Regions from separate parts of the Homo sapiens genome. Here all the other regions are linked to region 1. Evidence: promoter capture Hi-C in human tissues and cell types (Jung and others, 2019). All regions are on one chromosome and are shown on one strand. The core of a region is centred on a gene start or on the middle of the fragment in contact, and the rest is flanking DNA. Distances in the headings are between cores, read along the strand shown.

Region 1 (4,353 bases), core at 1,363-3,862:
GGCTGGTCTCGAACTCCTCACCTTGTGATCGGCCCGCCTCGGCCTCCCAAAGTATTGGGATTACAGGCGTGAGCCACTGCACCTGGCCTACAGTAATTTTATAGCAGCCCAGGCTAAGATAGCCATTTCTGGGTATAAGAATGTCATATACTGAACAGGCCTGCAACTGTGAGTAAAAGTCTGCAAAGAGGCCGGGCAGTGGCTCATACCTGTAATCCCAGCACTTTGGGGGGCCGAGGCAGGTGGATCACCTGAGGTCAGCAGTTCGAGACCAGCCTGACCAACATGGTGAAACCCCATCTCTACTAAAAATACAAAATTAGCTGGGCGTGGTAGTGCATGCTTGTAATCCCTAGCATGCACTTGGGAGCTACTTGGGAGGCTGAGGCAGGAGAATCACTTGTACTCAGGAGGCCGAGGTTGCAGTGAGCTGAGATCACGCCACTGCACTCCTTTCTGGGTGACAGAGTGAGACTCCATCTCAAAAAAACAAAACAAAACAAAACAAAAACAAACAAAAAAACCCAACAGGTAGGTAGCAGTGGTTCACGCCTGTAATCCCCACTTTGGGAGGCTAAAGTGGGCAGATCACCTGAGGTCAGGAGTTCACGTCCAGCCTGGGCAACATGGTGAAACTCTGTCTCTACAAAAATACAAAAATTAGCCAGGCATGATGGCGGGTGCCTGTAGTTCCAGCTATTCGGGAGGCTGAGGCAGGAGAATCGCTTGAACCTAGGAGGTAGAGGTTGCAGTGAGCCGAGTTCACGCTATTGCACTCCAGCCTCCATCTCAAAAACAAAACAACAAAAACCCAAAATATATATTATAATTTTATTTTATTTATTCAATTTTATTTTATTTTATTTTATTTTTCTAGGAACAGGTCTCATTCAGGCCAGGCATGGTGGCTCACGCCTGTAATCCCAGCACTTGGGAGGCCGAGGTGGAGGTGGGCGGATCACCTGAGGTCAGGAGTTCGAGACCATCCTGGTCAATGTGGCGAAACCCCATCTCTACTAAAAATACAAAAATTAGCCAGGTGTGGTGGCACACGCCTGTAATTCCAGCTACTTGGGATACTGAGTCAGGAGAATCACTTGAACAGGGAGATGGAAATTGCAGTGAGCCGAGATTGTTCCACTGCACTCCAGCCTGGGTGACAGGGCGAGACTCCGTCTCAAAAAAAAAAAAAAAAAAGAAAGAAAGAAAGAAAGAAAGAAACAGGATCTTACTCTGTTACCCAGGCTGGAGTACAGTGGTGCAATCATAGCTCACTGCAGCCTGGAACTCCTGGGCTCAAGTGATCCTCCTGCCTCAGCCTCCTCAGTAGCTCAGACTGCAGGCATGCACCACCATTCCCAGCTAATTTTTAATTTTTTTTTGGTAGAGATGAGGGTCTTGCTATGTTGCCCAGGCTGGTCTCAAACTCCTGGCCTCAAGCGATCCTGCCATGTCGGCCTCCCAAAGTGTTGGGATTACAAGTGTGAGCCACTATGCCTGGCCTAAAAATATATATATGAAAATATATAAGAAATGGGCCTCCCAGGAATTAAGGTGTTTGCGGGAGTCCTGGTCCCCAGTTTTTCTGCCAACACTCCCTGTTCCCACACATGACCTGGTCCAGACCCCAAACAGCCAGGCCCAAAGGACAGGTGAGGCGAGGCGAGAACTTGTGCCTCCCCGTGTTCCTGCTCTTTGTCCCTCTGTCCTACTTAGACTAATATTTGCCTTGGGTACTGCAAACAGGAAATGGGGGAGGGACAGGAGTAGGGCGGAGGGTAGGGTAGGACCAGAAGCCTCTCTAGGCCTGCCATGGGGCAGGCAGCCAGGGAGAAGGAGGGCCCCTCAGTGGAGACCCAGGGATTTCAGTAGCCCCTGTTCCGGGACAGGCGCAGGTCCTGGGAGGTGACAGAAGATAGACTAAAGGCCCAAGAGTCCCTGGACCTGACTCCTCCCAGGCAGCTGCCACACACAAACACACCTCCAGGCACCCTGGACAGGAAGGAGGAGAAATGGGCCCCTCCTCCAGTGGCTGAGAAGCTGGGGCAAATGTTGGCTGTTCCTATCCCTGGTGCATCCCATGGCGAGGGGCAACTTCCATCAGGCCACACCTTTTATCTTTGTCTCTATTTTTGATATCTGTGTATTATGATTATACAAACCCCCACATTGGCCTATATGTGCAGATCTGATTAAGAACTTACGATATTCCATGGACATTCCATTCCTAATCTCCTTTAGTCCTCACAACAAAGTATTATTCCCATTGTATAGATGAGGAAACTGAGGCACACAGAGATGACAAGCAACCACCGCTATATGTTAGGATTCGAAGGAGCTCCAGGAAAGTCTCATAGCCCCACTGGCCAGAATGGGCTAAATCTCAGAGGGGGAGGGTGGGAGATGGGGGTGACAGTGACCTTTTTTGTGACTCCTCCTAGACCATCCATCCCTGCTCCCAGGAGGACCTGTCCTCCCAGATGGTGGAGATGGACAGGAGGACTATCTACCCACCCGTCCCCACGGCCCTGACCCTCTGACCTCACCCTCTCCGCTGATTTCTTCATGTTAGTTCAACATTAACCCAGAGGGGTCAGGACAGACAATTCCTCAGTGACCCAGGAGCTGACACACTATGGCGCACGTCCGAGGCTTGCAGCTGCCTGGCTGCCTGGCCCTGGCTGCCCTGTGTAGCCTTGTGCACAGCCAGCATGGTAAGGGAGTGCTTGCAGGCTGGAACAGGCTGGAGGACTGGGGTGTGGGCCCATGGGCTGGGGTCTCCTGGCTGGACAGAGCACACAGAGCTGGCCCCTAAGTAGGTCTCAGCCCCAGGCGGCCAGCTTAGGGAAGAAGTCAGGAGCTCAGGGCTGGAAAGAGAATGGCTGCTTCTCTCTTCCAATATAGGGAGCAGGCTGGGGGCAAGGGGCAGTGTAGGAGGGGCACAGGGGGCCACATTTAGCAGCCTTCCAGGCACTTCCACCAGCCCAGACAGCCTCTCTCAGAAGCCAGCAGGGGAGGGTGGGCTTGCTTCATGCCCCCAGAATGGCCAAGACTGCCTGTTCCTGAGGCCGCTGTCCCATGACCCCCCCACCGCCTTACAGTGTTCCTGGCTCCTCAGCAAGCACGGTCGCTGCTCCAGCGGGTCCGGCGAGCCAACACCTTCTTGGAGGAGGTGCGCAAGGGCAACCTGGAGCGAGAGTGCGTGGAGGAGACGTGCAGCTACGAGGAGGCCTTCGAGGCTCTGGAGTCCTCCACGGCTACGGTGAGCCTGGGCTGCTCGGACGGTGCCGGGGCCTCAGACCGGGCCCAACTCTAGACACTTCCACAGAGAAGCAAGCGAGGAACGCCACAGCCCCTTCGCTGCTCACAGCCTCATTTCAACTCTGAGCCCCTCCTCACAGGGCTGGCAAGAGGAGCGGCCTCAGCCTTTCCTGGGGGTCTCTGTGCCTGGACTGTGTCCCTGTGCAGCTCCATGACATGGGGAGGCCTCCACAGTCTTCAGACATCCACCTGCCCTGGAGCTCTGTGTCCACATGGCCTCCTCAGCGGCAGACTCCCACACCACCCTTGAGGGGTGGGACTCTGGGGAGGCCACCACAAGCCCCCGGGCTCAAGACTCAGTGTTCCTGGAGCTCTGTGTCGCCTTTCCTGTCTGTAGGGCTCTGCCAGGGTCCCACTGCCCCCTCTCCTCCCATCTCCCCCAGCCTCTTTCAGTCTCGGTGTGTGTGTTGGAGGAACTCCCCTATCCTCAAATATTCTTCTCCTTTTGGAAACAAAAGTAGGAAACTCTGCCACAAACCTCCCCAGAGCCTGCCCCCTGCGTGACCAGGGTAAAGGAAAGTGTGAGGAGGAGACATAACATTTACTAAAACAACACAAAACAGGAGCTGCCGTAGCCTCACTCCCAGCCCTTGTTTTTCAGGATGTGTTCTGGGCCAAGTACACAGGTGAGCACCGGGAAGGATTTGCCCCAGGAAGGGAGGCCTGGGGACCCCAGTGAGAGAATTCTACCCAGAGAATCTTCTGCTGCACCTAGCCATCCACCCATCCACCCCTTCCCCACTCCTTCCTTGGTCCCTCCCATCTGTTCATCCATCTTTCTGTTTCTCACCAACATCCCATCCACCCTGACTCCAGCTCATCCTGGCCATACCCCAATCCCAAAGGTAAACACCTGGGTCTTTTCCAGCTTGTGAGACAGCGAGGACGCCTCGAGATAAGCTTGCTGCATGTCTGGAAGGTGAGCAACTGACACGGGTTTGGGGAGCAGGACATGGAGGGGAGCCTGGGAGAAGAGCTCAGGGGTGGGTTTGGAGTGTGGCTGGTGGAGGCCGAGGCAGTCCCCAGCATCTG
Region 2 (4,353 bases), core at 1,387-3,886, 250 kb before region 1:
ACATGTGTTTTAAACACATCCCTACATTTAAACCTTCTGCTCATACTGCCCCCACTATCTAGACTCCCTCCTCCCTGCCCTAGTCAATGTTTACTAAAATCCCCTTCATCCCTCATCTCCCCATTCAAGTACTTTCTCAAATAATTCACCCCCCTCCTTTTTTTTTTGAGACAGGGTATCACTCTGTCACCCAGGCTAAAGTGCAGTGGTGCGATCCCAGCTCACTGCAACCTCCGCCTCCCAGGTTCAAGCGATTCTCCTTGCTTCAAAACTCCCAAGTAGCTGGGATTACAGGCGTGCACCACCATGTCTGGCTAATTTTTGTATTTTTAGTAGAGACGGGGTTTCACCATATTGGCCAGGCTGGTCTCAAACTCCTGGCCTCAAGTGATCCACCTACCTTGGCCTTTCAAAGTGCTGGGATTACAGGCGTGAGCCACCACGTCTGGCCAATAATCCCCTTTTCTAAGAAGTCTTTTCTAATCTCACTAACCTGATTATGATCTCCTCTTCAGAAGCCCCATGGCACTTTGTTTCTCTCTTATTCTGTTACAGTTCTTCTGCTCAATTTCCTGCCCTCTGCAGGATGCTCTACCATTATTCACTCCACTTGAGGATGAGTTTAAAATTCAGCCCACCAGGGGCCAACTCAAAATCTACAAGCCAAGTATACCTGTTCTATTCCCACTCAACACTTTCCCTGAATCTGAATCCCCATAGTACATTATTAGTAGGTGCCTCTGATAGCAAGAACACACACAGTTTCTTCATCTTTATATAAAATATATAGATGCTCTGCTGTAGAAGGTATGCAGTAACTCCATATTAATTAAAGAAACAAAGGGCCACTTGAATATATCTGACTTGGACTATTCGACTGTCAGCTCCTTAAGAGTAGGGACTACCTTAAATCCCTCTGAGAGACTTAAGTACCTCCGAATCCTTGCACTTAACTAAAGAGTACCTTGCACAAAAGCACAGAATTACAACTCAATTTGTTAACTAGGACTCAAAGTATCTTTGGCTTTGAGAAGATACCCACTCAATCGTCAGAATGGCACTTCCAAAATTCCTAAAAATCTTTTGTCTGATTTCTGCAACTCCAGGAAAGCACCCAACTTCTGGAAGTCTACATAGCACAGTACTCGGGGCCCTAAGAAATTGATGGTTTCATGCAGGGGAAATATAACTGCAGCCAAAACAAAGCCGGGGTGGGCGGGCTTCCCTCTGCAAGTTGGTAAAACGTAACAAAAAAATTCCTGCTCTGGCCTGTGGAAGATCCAAGTGGGTGCAGGCCTTCTCCTTTGTTAGCCTCTGCAAGGCTCTTGCCTTGGGGCCAACAGGATTAGCACAGCCATTTCATGCTCTGAAAAGTCAGAAAAGGAGAGATAGGGAGCTTTTCACTCTAGGAAATGCCTAGTAGTCAGAGACAGTTTTTGTTTCTGTTCAAAAGATAAGTGGGGATGCTGAGGTTAAAAAGCAAAAATTCCAACAATGGTTAATGAAAGGTTTGGAAACAATATACAGAATTAGGCAATGGGATAAACTCCAAGAAGAGAAGAGCAGGTGCCAGAGAATCAGCACTAGATGTTTTCATGCATTCAAAAATTTCCATGTATTTAAAATGTCATCAGGACGCCCTGTGAGCAGACTTGATGCAGCAATTAGAGAATGCAGGCTTATCCCTCTTGGCACAAAATACCCACAAATAAGCTCCTAGTATAAAAGTCAAAACAAAGTAGAAAGAAAAGCTTTACCAAAAAAGTTGAGCAGTTGCTGCATTTCCCTGGATTTAATAATTCACTATGCACCTTCCTGAGATGGTCTAAACTAAACTCAAATACTGTATTCAAAGGCACAGAGCTCCCAGGACCCAATTTGGGTTTTGTACCTTGGGTCTACAGATAGGCTTCAGGTGGTTCAAGAAACCCCTGAAATAGCAAATAAAATTGTGCATGTGTTCATGAGTGTGTTATTACATTAATATTTTTAATTTTCTATATTTTATGATGCTTTGACATCTTAGGGGCTTTGCAGATAAGCAACTGTACCTCCCAGGGTTAGTTACTTCCTGGAGATTGCAAACAACTTGCCTTTGATATGCAAACCAACCAATCCAGAGTCCATACCCTAACTACCTCCTTTATTAAACACCGAGACAAGGCCGGGCGCAGTGGCTCACACCTGTAATCCAAGCACTTTGCGAGGCCAAGGCAGTCGGATCACGAGGTCAAGAGTTTGAGACCATCCTGGCCAACAGGGTGAAACCCCGTCTCTACTAAAAATACAAAAATTAGCCAGGCATGGTGGTGGGTGCCTGTAATCCCAGCTACTCAGGAGTCTGAGGCAGGAGAATCACTTGAACCGGGAGGTGGAGGTTGCAGTGAGCTGCGATCGCGCCACCGCACTCCAGCCTGGCGACACAGTGAGATTCCCTCTCAAAAAATAAAAATAAAAAATAAAAAAAAATAAACACCAAGACAATATTCCCCAGCCCTAAATCACCCCAGGGCCAAGTATGGACAACTAGTGCCCACACCTACAGCCCAGACCCTGCCAAAATTATTCAAACCGATCCAATCCTAAACTTACTTAGCCTCACCCATCCCTTCCCCTAGAAACCCCAATAAAGGCTCATGCTCCTCCCTGCCCTCCTTCTGCCTCCTGACTCCCTGGTACTTCCCCATGTGGCCTTGTGTTGTGTGGCATGGCACACGCTCATCTCTTGGGAACTGTAAGGAACAAACTATCCTTTCAACGGCAATCATCTCTTCATCTTTTGTCCTTACCATATTGGAATAAAAACAAAATCCTGGGCACACGTTACTACAGTTATGTGTAGGTGTTTTTTTCTTAGTGTAGGGTCTAAGTTTTTACCATATTTTCTCAGAGAGTTCACTGTTCTCTAAAGATTAAAAACTAGTGACCTAAATATTTCAGGTAACTTTGGGGCTCAACAGGCTAAGATATATCACAGAGGAAGCCTCTCTAGGGAACATGCAAAGCCAGGTGGTTAGAGAGTGCAAAGAGAAAAAGTGGAGACTGCATAGGGCTTTATTTACTTTTGGTTTTTCCTGGCTCTTTGCAGTGTAAGGGATCATCAGTGTAAGGAGGTAGAAAGGAAAAAGGTTCATCCATCCCCAAAATAGTGATGCTCATGATAAATTAGCACTTCTCATAAGTAACACAGAACTTCTGAAATGTATACATACAATCTTGCTTAAACATTCACAGAAATTGTGCAACTGTCCATGCTATATTCTATAAAAAACAACTAGCATGCTGTGCCAACCAGCGACAGTATCAGCAGCAAACAGATAAAGCCTTGGCCTTCAACCTCACTAAGGCTGACAAAGATACACAGATTTGGGATCTAGACTAAAGTACAGAGTCTTGAGACATGCCTAGAATAAAGAATAGTGATCTCAAAACAGAAAGCTTTTTGATGGCTGAGTGAGAACTGAATATTAAACAGGTATTTATCAAATAGCACTGTGGAAGATGTACATAAAATGGTAGTAAGATGTACTTCTTGCTTGTTTGGAGCCTACAATCCAGTTGGGAAGATAGGACTTCCATCAAAAGCATTATAAATGAGGCCAGGCGTGCTGGCACACGCCTGTAGTCCCAGCTACTTGGGAGGCTAAGGCAGGAGAATCACTTGAACCCAGGAGGCGGAGGTTGCAGTGAGCCGAGATCGTGCCACTGCACTCTAGCCTGGGCAACAGAGCAAGACTCTGTCTAAAAAAAAAAAAAAGGGCAATGTGAGTATCTAACGAGGAGACCAACCACAGCCACAGCCATTTAGGAAGGGGCCACTGGGCACCAATGGCTACCTGAGAAGGAGCAGGAAATTTACAGAGTACAGAGGAACTAGGGCTTGAAGCATGTGGAAAGGAGAATGGTTCAGGATAGAAAGAGGTTACTGCTCAAAGTGGATTCAGGGGTCAAGAGCTAATACCAGTTCAGTGGGAAGCAAAGGCTTATATAAATAATAATAGAGATCAGGTTGAAAAAAGATAAGGAACTTGTCATCTGTGTGGCAGGAAAGAGAAATCTTTTGACATTTTTGAGTAAGTAAATTACACAGTGGATAGCTTTCAAATTTTTATTTTTATCAAAGTACTACCTACCCATAATTTTTAAAGTTAGAAAGTATTCAAGGCTAATAAAGTTAAATGGCAGCCTCCAGCCCCATGACCCACCCTCCTTGATTTCTGTTCTCCAGAGGCAATCACTTTTCAAACCTTTTTTTTCTTCTGATAATTAACCATCATATTTCTAAAATTACTAATGTTTCTTTTTTTCTTTTCTTTTTTCTTTTTTTTTTTTTTGAGATGGAGTCTCGCTCTG
Region 3 (4,353 bases), core at 985-3,484, 200 kb before region 1:
TTATTTATCATTTAACAAACCAGTTCTTCAGGAACTGGGTGTGAGTTGAAGAATGGAAGCAAGGTCTGGGAGCAGCTGACTATCCTAGAATACCTAGAAGCTTGTTCCACCCTAAAGTGCTCTGGAGTTAGTCCTGAATGTCACCACCTGTTGTGTTATCCTCCAAGTGGTCGTTTAGTAAGCTGAGGCCCTTTGGCAAGCAGCATCCTCCACAGTGACCAAAAAACATCCTTCTTGGCTGGGCGTGGTGCCTCACGCCTGTAATCCCAACACTTTGGGAGGCCAGATGGGTGAACTGCCTGAGCTCAGGAGTTCAAGACCAGCCTGGGCAACATGGTGAGACTCCATCTCTACTAAAATACAAAAAAGTAGCCAGGCGTGGTGGTGCGTGCCTATAATCCCAGCTATTTGGAAGGCTGAGGCACGAGAATCACTTGAACCTGGGAGGCAGAGGTTGCAGTGAGCTGAGATCGCACTACTGCACTCCAGACTGGGTGACAGAGTGAGACTGCATCTCAAAACAAACAAACAAACAAACAAACAAACAAAAATACATCCTTCTTAAAGAAACTAATTATGGTAACAAAAGCAAATATTACCCCCAATCTGCTAAGGCAATGACAGTACTGAGTGAGATGAGATGATTTATTAGGAATGCTGTAAAGGAGATTCCTGATCTGAAGGGTTTGCATTAGGTAACTTCAGTTTTAATGACTCCATTTTTATTTTTTATTTTTTGAGACGCAGTCTCACTCTGTCACCCAGGCTGAAGTGCAGTGGCGCAATCTTGGCTCACTGCAACCTCCGCCTCCTGGGTTCAAGCGATTCTCCTGCCTCAGCCTCCTGAGTAGCTGGGATTAAAGGCATGCGCCACCACACCCGGCTAATTTTTGTACTTTTAGTAGAGATGGGGTTTCACCATGTTGGTCAGGCTGGTCTCAAACTCCTGACCTTCTGATCCGCCCGCTTTGGCCTCCCAAAGTGCTGGGATTACAGGTGTGAGCCACTGTGCTGGCCTTAATGACTCCATTTTACAATCCTAAAAGTCTATTTCCCACCTTAACTTCCTACCTTAATTAGGAAGACTTCTTTAAGTTGGAATAGACCCAAAATATGAAGCTTTGTTGCTGGAGAGTCTCTGATGAGGTTCTTTTGGAACACGCATCCCCTGTGCCTACTTACTACGGAATGTGTTGGCAACATTTGCTGCCCAGACAATATAGTGGAACTGGCAAGCCACATATATATGTCACTTTACTGCTAATGCACAAAAGCAGGAAAGCCAATCACCATGAATACACATATACACTGATGAAACATCAGTTCTTCATAGTTACAATACGAGTACTATCTGGAGTAAAAATAGGCTTCTCCAATTGGTGTGGAATAAAGAACTAGAGTTACTAGATGAGTAAACATCCTAGGAATGTTTACCACCATTGCTAGGAACCTCAAAGAAAGATCTTTCTTTTTTTTTTTTTTTTTTTTTTTTTGAGACGGTGTCTCGCTCTGTTGCCCAGGCTGGAGTGCAGTGGCACGATCTCGGCTCACTGCAAGCTCCGCCTCCTGGGTTCGAGCCATTCTCCTGCCTCAGCCTCCCAAGTAGCTGGGACTACAGGCACCTGCCACCATGCCTGGCTAATTTCTTTTTGTATTTTTAGTAGAGACAGGGTTTCACCGTGTTAGCCAGGATGGTCTTGATCTCCTGACCTCATGATCCGCCCACCTCGGCCTCCCAAAGTGCTGGGATTACAGGCGTGACCCACTGCGCCCGGCCAAAAGATCTTTCTTTCCCAGTGTTAGCCTGTTACAGACAGCTGTCAACGGGAAATGGTAGGAGAAAATTGAATGCGATGGCAGTTCTGCACATTCTGCTGTGACCACCACAAACTTGACTTGACTTAATCTATCACAAGAAATCAGGGAGGGCCTAGGAAGGGCTCAGACAAGCTTGTTCAGGTTCGAAGCTGCTATCACTGAAGCTGAAGAAAAAAAAAATACAAAAACACAATACAACCAAACAAAATACTTCCTTGTTTTCTCTACTTGCCTGGTTCATTTTATACACCACTGGTGTCCAAGTGAGGTATACGAGGGGTTGTGCTATTTGATCCATTGGACAGCAAGGGGGAAATATTACAACTTCTGCTATATAATATATAATCATAACACACATGGATTACTCAAAAGCTTTTTTTTTTTTTTTTTTTGAGATGGAGTTTCCCTCTTTTGCCCAGGCTGGAGTGCAATGGTGCAATCTCGGCTCACTGCAACCTCCGCCTCCCGGGTTCAAGTGATTCTCTTGCCTCAGCCTCCCAAGTAGCTGGGATTACAGGCGTCCACCACCACACCCAGCTGATTTTTGTATTTTTAGTAAAAACAGGGTTGCACCATGTTGGCTGGAGCTGGTCTCAATCTTCTGACCTCAGGTGATCCACCCGCCTCGGCCTCCCAAAGTGCTAGGATTACAGGCGTAAGCCACCGCGCCCGGCTAGAAAGCATTTTATTAATAAGGTTTTTTTTTTTTTTTTTTTTTTTTTTTAAGTCTGAAGGCCACTGCTCTATCAAACTATATATTACTTTAACAATACTAAACAGGCCGGGTGCAGTGGCTCACGCCTGTAATCCCAGCACTTTGGGAGGCTGAGGCAGGTGGATCACGAGGTCAGGAGATCGAGACCATCCTGGCTAACATGGTGAAACCATGTCTCTACTAAAAATACAAAAAATTAGCCGGGCCTGGTGGCACACGCCTGTCCCAGCTACTTGGGAGGCTGAGGCAGGAGAATCGCTTGAACCCGGGAGGCAGAGGTTGCAGTGAGCCAAGATCGCGCCACTGCACTCCAGCCTGGGCAACAGGGACAGACTCTGTCTCAAAAAAAAAAAAAAAAAAATGCCAAATACTTAAAGAATAGGATAAGCTTAAATATAAAAAACTATAAGCATATAAAAGTATACCCATATTCGTATATATATAGAGAGAGAGAGAACAAAAGAAGATAATAAAGCCAATGTGGCAAAATGTTAACATTTAGGGAATGTGGGTAAAGGGTATATGGGAATCCTCTATACGTTTTCTGCAAGTTTGAAATTATTTCAAAATGAAAAACAAAAACATACAACACACAAAAATCTTAAAGTAAAATACTGAAAAGAAAGAGATAGCCATTTGTTTTCAGAAGAATTACTCACGGCCAGGCGCGGTGGCTCACGCCTGTAATCCCAGCACTTTGGGAGGCCGAGGTGGGCAGATCACCTGAGGTCAGGAGTTCGAGACCAGCCTGGCTAACATGGTGAAACTCCATCTCTACTAAAAATGCAAAAATTAGCCGGGCGTGGTGGTGGGCTCCCGTAGTCCCAGCTACTTGGGAAGCTGAGGCAGGAGAATGGCATGAACCTGGGAGGCGGAGCTTGCAGTGAGCCAAGATAGCGCCGCTGTACTCCAGCCTAGGTGACAGAGCAAGACTCCGTCTCAAAAAAAAAAAAAAAAAAAAAAAAAGAATTACTCACTTTGTAAAAAGATTTCTTAGAATAGCAACTTGCCCTAATGCTCTACAGCAGGTTTGGTAAACTACAGGCCCCAGGTCAGCTGTCTTCTTTTGTAAATAAGTGGCTACTTTGGAGCTGGCAAGGCAGAACTGAGGAATCCTGATAGAGACAAAGCCTAAAATACCTACTGCCTAGCCCTTTACAGAAGATGTTCGCCCATTTCTGCTCTAAAACATTTGCTTACATAGAATTCTTTAAATTACTAAGGGACAGAACAAAAAAGAACTTGAAATTAAAGTATTGTGCACTGGAAAAAAAACATCAAAAATGAATATTAAGCTCTGCTAAAATCATAATAGGCATATAATTCAAACTGTGAAATCCTGAACATTTTTAAAAGAATACAACTATTTTTTCTTTCCCTGATTAATATTCTGAGTTATGTGCAAAGAAGTTCCCTGTATCAGCTGTATTCTTGATCACTAGGAATACAATTTTTAAAATAGTCAAAGAAAGCTCTGGAAAAGAAAAAAAGTGGTCGGAGCAGATCAACTGAAAGAAAAGAACCTTCACTTCATTATTTTATTTTATTTCATTTTTTGAGACAGAGTTTCTGTCACCCAGGCTGGAGTACAGTGGCGCGATCTTGGCTAACTGCAACTTCTGCTTCCTGTGCTTAAGCAATTCTCTTGCCTCAGCCTCCCGAGTAGCTGGGGCTACAGGCATGCACCACCAAGCCTGGCTAATTTTTGTATTTTTAGTAGAGACGGGATTTCACCATGTTGTCCAGGCTGGTCTTGATCTCCTGGCCTCATATAATCCACCCACTTTGGCCTCCCAACATGCTGGGATTACAGGCATGCG

What was found. Contacts are between HindIII fragments. The study calls those that stand out against the background at their distance.
Region 2: a fragment that was not itself captured here is called in contact with the fragment with the promoter of F2 in region 1 in 2 of the 25 tissues and cell types used here (bladder and dorsolateral prefrontal cortex).
Region 3: a contact is called between a fragment that was not itself captured here and the fragment with the promoter of F2 in region 1, in 4 of the 25 tissues and cell types used here (dorsolateral prefrontal cortex, mesenchymal stem cells, mesendoderm cells and 1 more).

The regions. Positions count from the first base shown.
Region 1 is chr11:46,716,601-46,720,953 of GRCh38, forward strand. F2 (coagulation factor II, thrombin) reads left to right here and starts at 2,613. Exons shown (of 14, transcript NM_000506.5): 1 at 2,613-2,714; 2 at 3,102-3,262; 3 at 3,923-3,947; 4 at 4,190-4,240. The coding sequence starts at 2,636. The HindIII fragment of the contact is 9,646 bases long and covers 1-4,353 here.
Region 2 is chr11:46,462,603-46,466,955 of GRCh38, forward strand. All of the region lies in intron 11 of AMBRA1 (autophagy and beclin 1 regulator 1), which reads right to left. Among named protein-coding and RNA genes, the nearest start is that of MIR3160-1, 13 kb to the left of the region's middle. The HindIII fragment of the contact is 5,711 bases long and covers 1-4,353 here.
Region 3 is chr11:46,514,956-46,519,308 of GRCh38, forward strand. The region is part of intron 7 of AMBRA1 (autophagy and beclin 1 regulator 1); the gene reads right to left. Among named protein-coding and RNA genes, the nearest start is that of MIR3160-1, 65 kb to the left of the region's middle. The HindIII fragment of the contact is 3,250 bases long and covers 610-3,859 here.